Linked DNA regions of Homo sapiens: region 2 is linked to region 1. Evidence: promoter capture Hi-C in 16 types of primary human blood cells and fetal thymus (Javierre and others, 2016). All regions are on one chromosome and are shown on one strand. Each heading gives the region's core, a stretch centred on a gene start or on the middle of the fragment in contact. The rest is flanking DNA. Distances are from core to core; before and after follow the strand shown. Region 1 holds the start of TSPAN1 (tetraspanin 1). Region 2 overlaps MAST2 (microtubule associated serine/threonine kinase 2).

What was found. The method cuts DNA at HindIII sites, captures the fragments that hold promoters and counts their contacts. A CHiCAGO score of 5 or more calls a contact.
Region 2: a fragment that was not itself captured here is called in contact with the fragment with the promoter of TSPAN1 in region 1 in 2 of 17 cell types (erythroblasts and M1 macrophages); the score reaches 5.4 in erythroblasts.

What each region holds. Positions count from the first base shown.
Region 1 is chr1:46,173,100-46,177,436 of GRCh38, reverse strand. TSPAN1 (tetraspanin 1) reads right to left here and starts at 2,350. Exons shown (of 9, transcript NM_005727.4): 1 at 2,028-2,350. It overlaps P3R3URF-PIK3R3 (P3R3URF-PIK3R3 readthrough), which reads left to right and starts at 949. Exons shown (of 10, transcript NM_001303427.2): 1 at 949-1,209. The coding sequence starts at 966. It overlaps P3R3URF (PIK3R3 upstream open reading frame), which reads left to right and starts at 949. Exons shown (of 2, transcript NM_001328655.2): 1 at 949-1,209; 2 at 1,808-1,951. The coding sequence starts at 966. The coding sequence ends at 1,851. It also overlaps a transcript of PIK3R3 not described here. The HindIII fragment of the contact is 4,826 bases long and covers 1,879-4,337 here.
Region 2 is chr1:45,914,019-45,918,355 of GRCh38, reverse strand. The region is part of intron 4 of MAST2 (microtubule associated serine/threonine kinase 2); the gene reads right to left. Among named protein-coding and RNA genes, the nearest start is that of MAST2, 110 kb to the right of the region's middle. The HindIII fragment of the contact is 5,716 bases long and covers 1-4,337 here.

The sequences.
Region 1 (4,337 bases), core at 1,101-3,600:
TATAATGCTGTTGGCTGTGAGTTCAATGTCAATGACTCAAATATAGATAGATAGTTAGATAGATAGATAGATAGATAGATAGATATATTTTTTTTTTTTTTGAGACAGAGTTTCACTCTTGTTGCCCAGGCTGGAGTGCAATGGTGCAATCTGGGCTCACTGCAATCTCCACCTCCTGGGTTCAAGCTATTCTCCTGTCTCAGCCTCCTGAGTAGCTGGGACTACAGGCACCCACCACCACACCCAGCTAATTTTTGTATTTTTAGTAGAGATGGGGTTTTGCCATGTTAACCAGGCTAGTCTTGAACTCCTGACCTCAGGTGATCTGCCCACCTCGGCCTCCCAAAGTGCTGGGATTACAGGCTTGAGCCACCATGCCTGGCCAACAATATATATTAAATAAGGTGTCTCCACACATAAAATCAGGTTATATGTATAGATCAGTTGACAAAAATATTGTGACCAGAGGGTTTCAGGAACCTAACCTTGCATTTACCCTTTGTTCAGTATTTAGTGTTTGTGGCGACTTTATAGAACATTACTGGGAATAATGAGAATTGACTGTATATAAATAGGTATAATGATGGCATATCCTTGTAAAGTAGCTGAGATTAAATGAGATAACGTTGGTAAAGTGCTCAGCACAGTGTCTGGCACGTAGTAAGTGCTCAAAAAACATTGTTAATATTGTTACTATATGGATAAGTGAGAAAGTGAGGAAGTGAGTTCCGCCTCTAGGGCCTCTTTTCCCAAGGGGCCAAACTGAGGCTGTCTGGCTCTTGGGCTGGCTTTTAGGCCAGACCCAATAAAGAAGATTGTGAAGGAGCCTGACCCATGAGGAGGGGCCAGGGCCCACGACTTGTAATAAAGGGCCCTGCCCTTATGCAGACTTTGTATGTCATAGAGGCCTCAGCTACCCTGGCCAACAGCACCCCCCAGGCACACTGCAGAAGCTCCCTGTGCCCATGGGGCCATCTCGGCTTGTCCGTGGCCCTCGGCCCCAGGGCATGCGTTCCCCCTACCGCAGGCCAGGTATGGGCTGGCCCAGGCCCCGATTTCCCAGGATGTTCAAGTGTAGCCGCAGAAGATATCAACAGGGTCTCCGAGGTCGAACTGCCAGCAGTGCAGCCATCAATCCTGCCACCAGGGCCATGGGTATCAACAACACCCACACTGACACCACCATAGTGTGGATCTTCCCACCTCAAGGTTAGCCAGGGGGCCTGTGAGCCAGGGTGGGGTTTTAAAAAACAGAGCCACTAGGCTGGGTGCGGTGGCTCATGCCTGTAATCCCGGCACTTTGGGAGGCCAAGGCGGGCAGATCACAAGGTCAGGAGATCGAGACCATCCTGGCTAACACGGTGAAATCCCATCTCTACTAAAAATACAAAAAAAAATTAGCCGGGCGTGGTGGCACACGCCTTTAGTCCCAGCTACTTGGGAGGCTGAGGCAGGAGAATTGCTTGAACCCGGGAGGCAGAGGTTGCAGTGAGCCAAGATCGCGCCACTGCACTCCAGCCTGGGTGACAGAGCTAGACTCTGTCTCAAGAAAAAAAAAAAAAAACCAGAGCCAGTGAAGATTTCCCTACCTGGTTCTGTTTAGGCACGCCAAAGGATGATCTCTGTGAAATAGCACCCCTACATATATGGGGGACTCCTGATGGCAGGCACCCCAAAGTGCTGACAGCCTTAATGGAGGATGGATTGGCTGGAAGCAGAGGGTTTGGGGAGGGGCTGAATCCAAGAGGCAGGGAACTTCCAGAACTGCTTCCTTCCTCAAACTCTTCCCTCTCCTTCCTCTCCTCAGTTCTCAGACATCTCAGGCAACCTGGGATTTTTCTGATCCTCTAGAAGTGCCCAGAAGCTAGCCCAGAAGCTTGGTTTGCCCTGGACCTGCATCTCCTAGGGGCCGTGTGGGTGGTGAACAACAAATACAGTCATTCTGCTCAAACTGCCTTATTCCACACAGAGGTGTTAACCAGCTGACTATGCAGGGCGTGAGGGGAGGGTTATGGCTGAATACTTACAGGGAAAGGCTTCAGTGACCGCAGCAGGGATCATAGTTTAAGACAGCAGGAGGACAGGACAAGGTCAGCAACATAGACCATCTTTGGTCTCAGCTCTTGATCTGCCCCATGAAGTAGGGGCTCTCTTGCCTTACACTCCTAACTGCACAGGGAGAAGGGTCTCTGTAAACATCTTGGAAGGTATTGGGAGGCACAGATCAGAGAGGGATAGGATGAAAGACTGAACCCTGAGAGTACACAAGTATGAGGTGGATGTGAGGTGGATGTGCCTCTGTGTGCCTGTGATGGTCAGCGTGTAGGTGTAGCTGCTGGTGTGTGTGTCTGAGGCCGGGAGAATAGGAGTATCAGTAGATGTGGCTGAATGTGCCTTTGTGATTTAATGTGCCTCTGTGACTGACTGTGAGTGTCAAGGAGCGTTTGTGAGGGTATGGGTGTGCCGGAGAGGACATCAGCCCTGGTAAGAAAAGTGAAGGTCAGGAGGGGGATGGGGAACAGCCTAAAGGAGGAGAACATGGAGAAGGGTGAGATTCTGAGAAAGGCATACTACCTTCGGCCCTTCAACCATTCTCTGAGGTCAGTGTTTTCCAGAACTGGCAGCTGAGCTGGGGTGCTTAGGGGTGGGGCAAGACTGAGTTTGAGCCCAGAAAGTAGGGAGGGTGCTAAGCTCTCTGGCCTGGGGATTTTCCATTTGGATTTCTGAGTGTGTGCTCATGTGTCACTGGCTGTAACCGGGTTTCTGTGGGGTTGTGTCTTAGTCGCTGGGAACATTTTGTAGGACTCTGTCTCGAATATGTTGCATCATGCATGGGCTAATACGTGTTGCACCGGTCCGAGATCTGGCTGCATTTCCAGGCTACCTTCCCAAGGGGCTAGGGAAGGGAGTGAACCCTGAGACCTTTGGTGGCCTGGCCCCCTGGGGTTCAGGAAGTGTGGCTAATGTCCTTTGCTGCCTGTGAAGGGAAAGTGAATTGTGCTTATGTCTATCTACCCCAACTCTTGCCAGAGACTGGGACCCTGAGGGGGGTTGAGGCAGAGAATTCACTGACACACCATGCCCAGACGGTGCTGGGCTCCTCAGGTTATGGGATGGGGGTTGCTGAACATCAGTCAAAGCTAGAAGGTGCTTGGGCCATGCTCAAGGGCCCAAGAGGGGCCATACATATAAAGATACATGACACAGTTCACAAACACATGCAGACATGTAAATATAAGTGAACTCATAGACACATACTGCAACAACCACACACATGCATGCAAGCACATACTATAAGCAGATATACGCAGACACAAATGCATAGATCCCCACACGATATATGTAACAACACATACGCATGCCTCTAAATGAACACAGACAGAAACATGCATGCACCCAGACACAAGCACACAAGCACCCAGATGCAGACACATGCCTTCACACTCATGCAAACCCAGGCACACACAGACATACACGCATGCAGACACACTCACCAGACTTCCCTGCCCCTGCGGCCCTGGGACCCAGAAGCCTCCCTCCCCTATATGAGTGTGTAGTATGTGTGTGTGCATGCACTCATGCCCACACTTGTGTCTGTGTGTATCTGTGTCTGTGAGAGTGTGTGTTTGTGCTCGAGTGTGTGTATGATGGGGGTGCTAAGCTGTGGGAACCAGATGACATCATCTCTTCCAGCTATTTTTAGCTGTATCTGCGATGATGGCTTCTTCACTGCCCCTCCCCCTTCAGGTTCCTAATTCTCCTCCCCATCTAGGCTCCCAGAGGCAGCAGCAGCCAGAGGGCACCCACCACCTCAGTTTAGGTGGCTCCCGGATGAGCGGGTGCAGCCCACTCTCTCCCACCCTGCCAGAGTTCCCTGGTGGCTGAGAACACCAGGCTCTCAGGCTGGAAGGGCCTGGGTTAGCTGAGCTGACCTAGATGGTCTCCACCCCTTAAGGTGCCTCTGCTTCTGCTTTTCAATCTGCAACTCTGTGTCAGTCAACAGTGCCTGCTATGTGCCAGGGATGGTACTAAATTCTGGAGATACAGCAGTGAGCAAGGCAGTGGGAGTTCTTTCCCAGAGGAATTATAGCTCAGTGAGAGGCACATTACACAGATTACACAAGCTCTTCATTAAATCGTGAGGAGGTCTCTGAGTACTTGTAACAGGGGCTCCGTTTGCGATGATGTTCTCTGCCTCTCTCTGTTCTTCCTTCTCCCATAGGTGAGATAACCTGAGGAAATCAGAGGGAATACAGCCCTTACCTTGCACCCTTCATCCTAACAACCATATCTCCAGAATTCCACAGAGCAGTGCTTCCTTCTCACACCCTAGGCTG
Region 2 (4,337 bases), core at 522-3,021, 260 kb after region 1:
CTGTTGCACAAAGAATACATGGAGCAAGCTCCTAGATCAGGCCCCTGGCACTTCATGTTGCCTCCACCTGGAACACTCTTCTTCCAGATATCTCCATTCAGGCTCTATGACTTCCTTCAGGTCTTTTATGTCAACTTACCACTGAGGACCTACCTGACCACCTTATATAAAATGTCAAGCCCTGGCCTCTACATTCTCTTATCCTACTTTATTTTTCTCAGAAGCACTGTCTATCCGTTATGTTACATATTTACTCATTAACTTGTCTCTCTTTCTCCACTAGAATCTAAGCTCCCTGAGGACAGGGATTTTATTGCTTTATGTTCACTGCTTTGTTTCCCATGCCCAAAACAGTGTCCTAGCAGATAGTACGTAATCAAATAATGTTGAATATAAGAAAAGGAAGACAGAAAGAAATGGGAGAAGGGCTATTTTCCTCAACCTGAACAAACCATTTAACTTGTTTTGGACTCAAATTTTCCCATCGTGTAAAATGTGAGGTTTGAACTTTTTTACCTCCTAAGAGTTCTAGCACTCTGCCATGCTATGGGGTGGTCACAGGTCATAGTTCACAAGGCTGTCCAATGGTCAGGATGGGCACACAACTTATAATAGCCTCAAAAATCCAAGTACTGATAACCTACCCTCCTTTCTCCTGACATTTTGAATACAACAGAAATCTGTGATATTTATTTTACTCTTCTCTGTGACAGAACCAAGACTCTTACTCCATTTCTCCCCATTATTAAGGAGTAAGGTATGCGTTTTACCATTTGGCCAGAAGCAATTGTCAAGGCCCAGATTCACAGCAAGTTTCCTTACCTCCACGGCAGTGGGCGGCTGGAACAAGGAGTGCCAGGACTGCTGTGGGCTCGTGGGTTCAGGAAAATGGCAAGAGGAGAAGTAGCCAAAGCACAATCAGCACTAAATGGGACTTTAGTGAGGAAGAGGGCTGGAGCAGATGTGGGTGAAAACATGTGCTGGTTTACTTCAGCTCCTCGGCAAAGGGTAGAGATTCTGACAAGGTACCACAATAGGAAAAAAACAAGGTCAGTGATAACTTTTCAACCAAAAAGAAACATATTCAAAGTGGCTTGGTTTAGGCAAAAAGCTCAAGAAAAGTAAGTGGTCAAAAATCATTCTCCAATATCATACTTCAGTACCAATGTTGGTACAGGATGACAACAGAGACAAAAACTTAATCCATAAAATTAAAATACAACATTTAAGATTTGGCTATTCAACATATTTGTTATTTATTTTTATTTTTATTTTTTGAGACAGAGTTTTGCTCTTGTTGCCCAGGCTAGAGTGCAATGGCACGATCTTGGCTCACTGCAACCTCTGCCTCCTGGGTTCAAGCGATTCTCCTGCCTCAGCCTCCCAAGTAGCTGGGATTACAGGCATGCACCACCACACCCAGCTAATTTTGTATTTTTAGTACAAACAGGGTTTCATCATGTTGGTCAGTCTGGTCTCGAACTCCTGACCTCGAGTGATCCACCCGCCTCGGCCTCCTAAAAGTGCTGGGATTACAGATGTAAGCCACCGTGCCCAGCCTGAAGTATTTAGAATTGGTTTCTGGGCAAACCAAACACTGCAAATTTACTACATCAATTAGCAGGCAACAGTTAATATTTAATATTCAATGACTAAAACTTCCTAAAGAAATGTATATGTCCCTAAGAGTAAAACATTCTGAATAGTTTATAAATTATTGATTATATCAACAATAATACCAATTTGTTTAGCTAACATTTCTCTAATGAATGTATCATATAATGTCAGTTAACTATGTATTTTGCTTCTACTTAAATTTTAGATTCCCAGGTTATTTTTTCCCATAAAAACAATCTAGCCATTTTGATATGTTAAGTCCTATCGAAGATTATTAAATAAATAAGATCATTAGATTGAAAACAGGTAATAAATAGATTTCTAATTTGCTACCATTAGTAGAAACGACACATGATAAAAATAATATTCATAATATTTAATTTGCTACCTTATTGGCATGGCTTTCTATACACACACCATTATTTAATTTCCAAGGTAAAAAAATTACTTAAGTATCACATAAGTACCTGATCTAATTCAAAATGATAACATTGTTAGTTTCTCGTATTGTTATTTCTGACTGTTTATAATATGGATACAGTGACATTCTACTTGTGCTTGCTTACATATATTCAAAGGAAATCTTCACTTTCCTAGTCATTATCACTCTAGTGGTCTTCAGTTTACTTCTCAGGTGGGTACACAATATGGGGTAGTAACAGGATAGAAAATAGGAGGGCACACAACTATTTAAAATTACAGTTATGCCCACATTTCCACAAACTCAACATTTTTTTAAAGTTAAAAGAAGTAAAAATGTTAATTTTAAGTTAATTTCTCATTTTCAAAAAGAATTTTCACTCTTCCAAAGAACTATTTCAAAGTTAAGCTCCTTCATATATATGTTAGAACTAATTAGAACATTAGACAGCACTTACTTGTTAACCTGAATAATATGCTTGTACAAAATTTTGAAGCCTTAAGTCTTATCACATAAAATGAGGTTTAGACATTTTGTTCAATATATAATTGAAATTATAAAAATCTATGAAAGCCAAACTTCATTTTCTTTCCTTTTTTTTTTTTTTTGAGACAGAGTCTCACTCTGTCACCCAGGCTGGAGTACAGTGGCGCCATCTCGGCTCACTGCAAGTTCCGCCTCCCAGGTTCACGCCATTCTCCTGCCTCAGCCTCCCGAGTAGCTGGGATTACAGGCGCCCGCCACCACGTCCGGCTAATTTTTTGTATTTTCAGTAGAGACAGAGTTTCACCGTGTTAGCCAGGATGGTCTCGATCTCCTGACCTCGTGATCCGCCCGCCTCGGCCTCCCAAAGTGCTGGGATTACTGGCGTAAGCCACCGCGCCTGGCCGGCAAATTTCATTTTCTTTTTGCCCCTAATTACTACTCTGCAAACTGGTTATACAATGGGTCTAGAGTCTAAAAAGGATTGTTTGAAACAGGAAAAGGTGATATACAAACTACTTATTAGCTCCTCAGGGGGTATTTTTCTAACTCAAAGTCAGTAAAACAGAGAAAATGATTACCAACAGCAGTGTACCCACATTTGAAGAGCATGATTTGCCAGGTATGGTAATCTCAGCACTCTAAGAGGCTGAGGCAAGAGGATCACTTGAGCTCAGGAGTTCCAGACCAGCCTGAGCAACATAGAGAGACCTTATTTCTACAAAAAAATTAAAAAATTAGCCAGGCTTGGTGGTGCATGCCTGTGGTCCCAGCTGCTGAGGTGGAAGGATCCCTTGGGCCCAGGAGGTCAAGGTTTAGTGAGCTGTGATAGCACCACTGCCCTCCCGCCTGGGCCATAAAGTAAGACACTCTCAAAAACAAAAACAGAACCATGATTTTTGACCATTTAAGTTTTCTTAAGCTACAAACTCCATTTAAAAATTTTTAATTTTGTTAACAAGTGACCTTTACTTTAAATAACACATTAGTTGATGAAGTCTGTTTTTAAATGGTCTTTTACTTCTGTGTCAGTATGGTAATAAAAGGTTTTTTTTAAAGTGTGTCAATACTACAACTATATACTTCAAACAAATCCTGTTTCTTAAGGTCTAATAGAATCATTAATTCAATCAATAAGCATCCACAGACACTGAAGGGCAACATCACAAAGGAAGCCCACTGAAGAAGCCTGTCTGTCTCAGGGCAAGCAGTTTGACTCAGGAAGAAAATCTGAAGTACACTCCCTTAGCCCTGTGGGTTAAACAAAGGCAGTTCAAGACAGATAATTGAGGTGAAATGAATTCTAGGTCTCTTCTTTCACTGGTTCTCTAATTTACTGATGAATTCACTTGGCACTTCTTCATTAAATAAGCCTGAGCTGCTCTTGGAAAAGTCACCCTGAAGAGGAAGCCTTCTTCCACTCCCAGCTTTGATATTCTCACCTAATAAAGTTTATTTCTATATTGGCCAATATAGAAATAAAATAGAGGTCACACCCTAAAGGACCCATGCTTGAATCTGCAAGGGCAGATCTGAGGTCCTGAGCTGACAGGCCATGGGCAGAAATACAATACCCTCTCTAGTCAAAGGAGGAGGTACTTTTTGTTTCCATTGGTTTCTCACATTCACGGGGTTTGTATTTGCAGCCTTGACACTAACTTTAAATAAACATTTGCTTTCAAGGGAAGAAAATAATTGTCTTCATTTTTTTACCCAGTTCTCCAAGTATTCAGGAACCCCTAAAATGACATCTAATTCAGTTTCTGGAATTGGAAACCTCATATGCCCCTGCCAAGGACCACTGTTTTGACCTTGA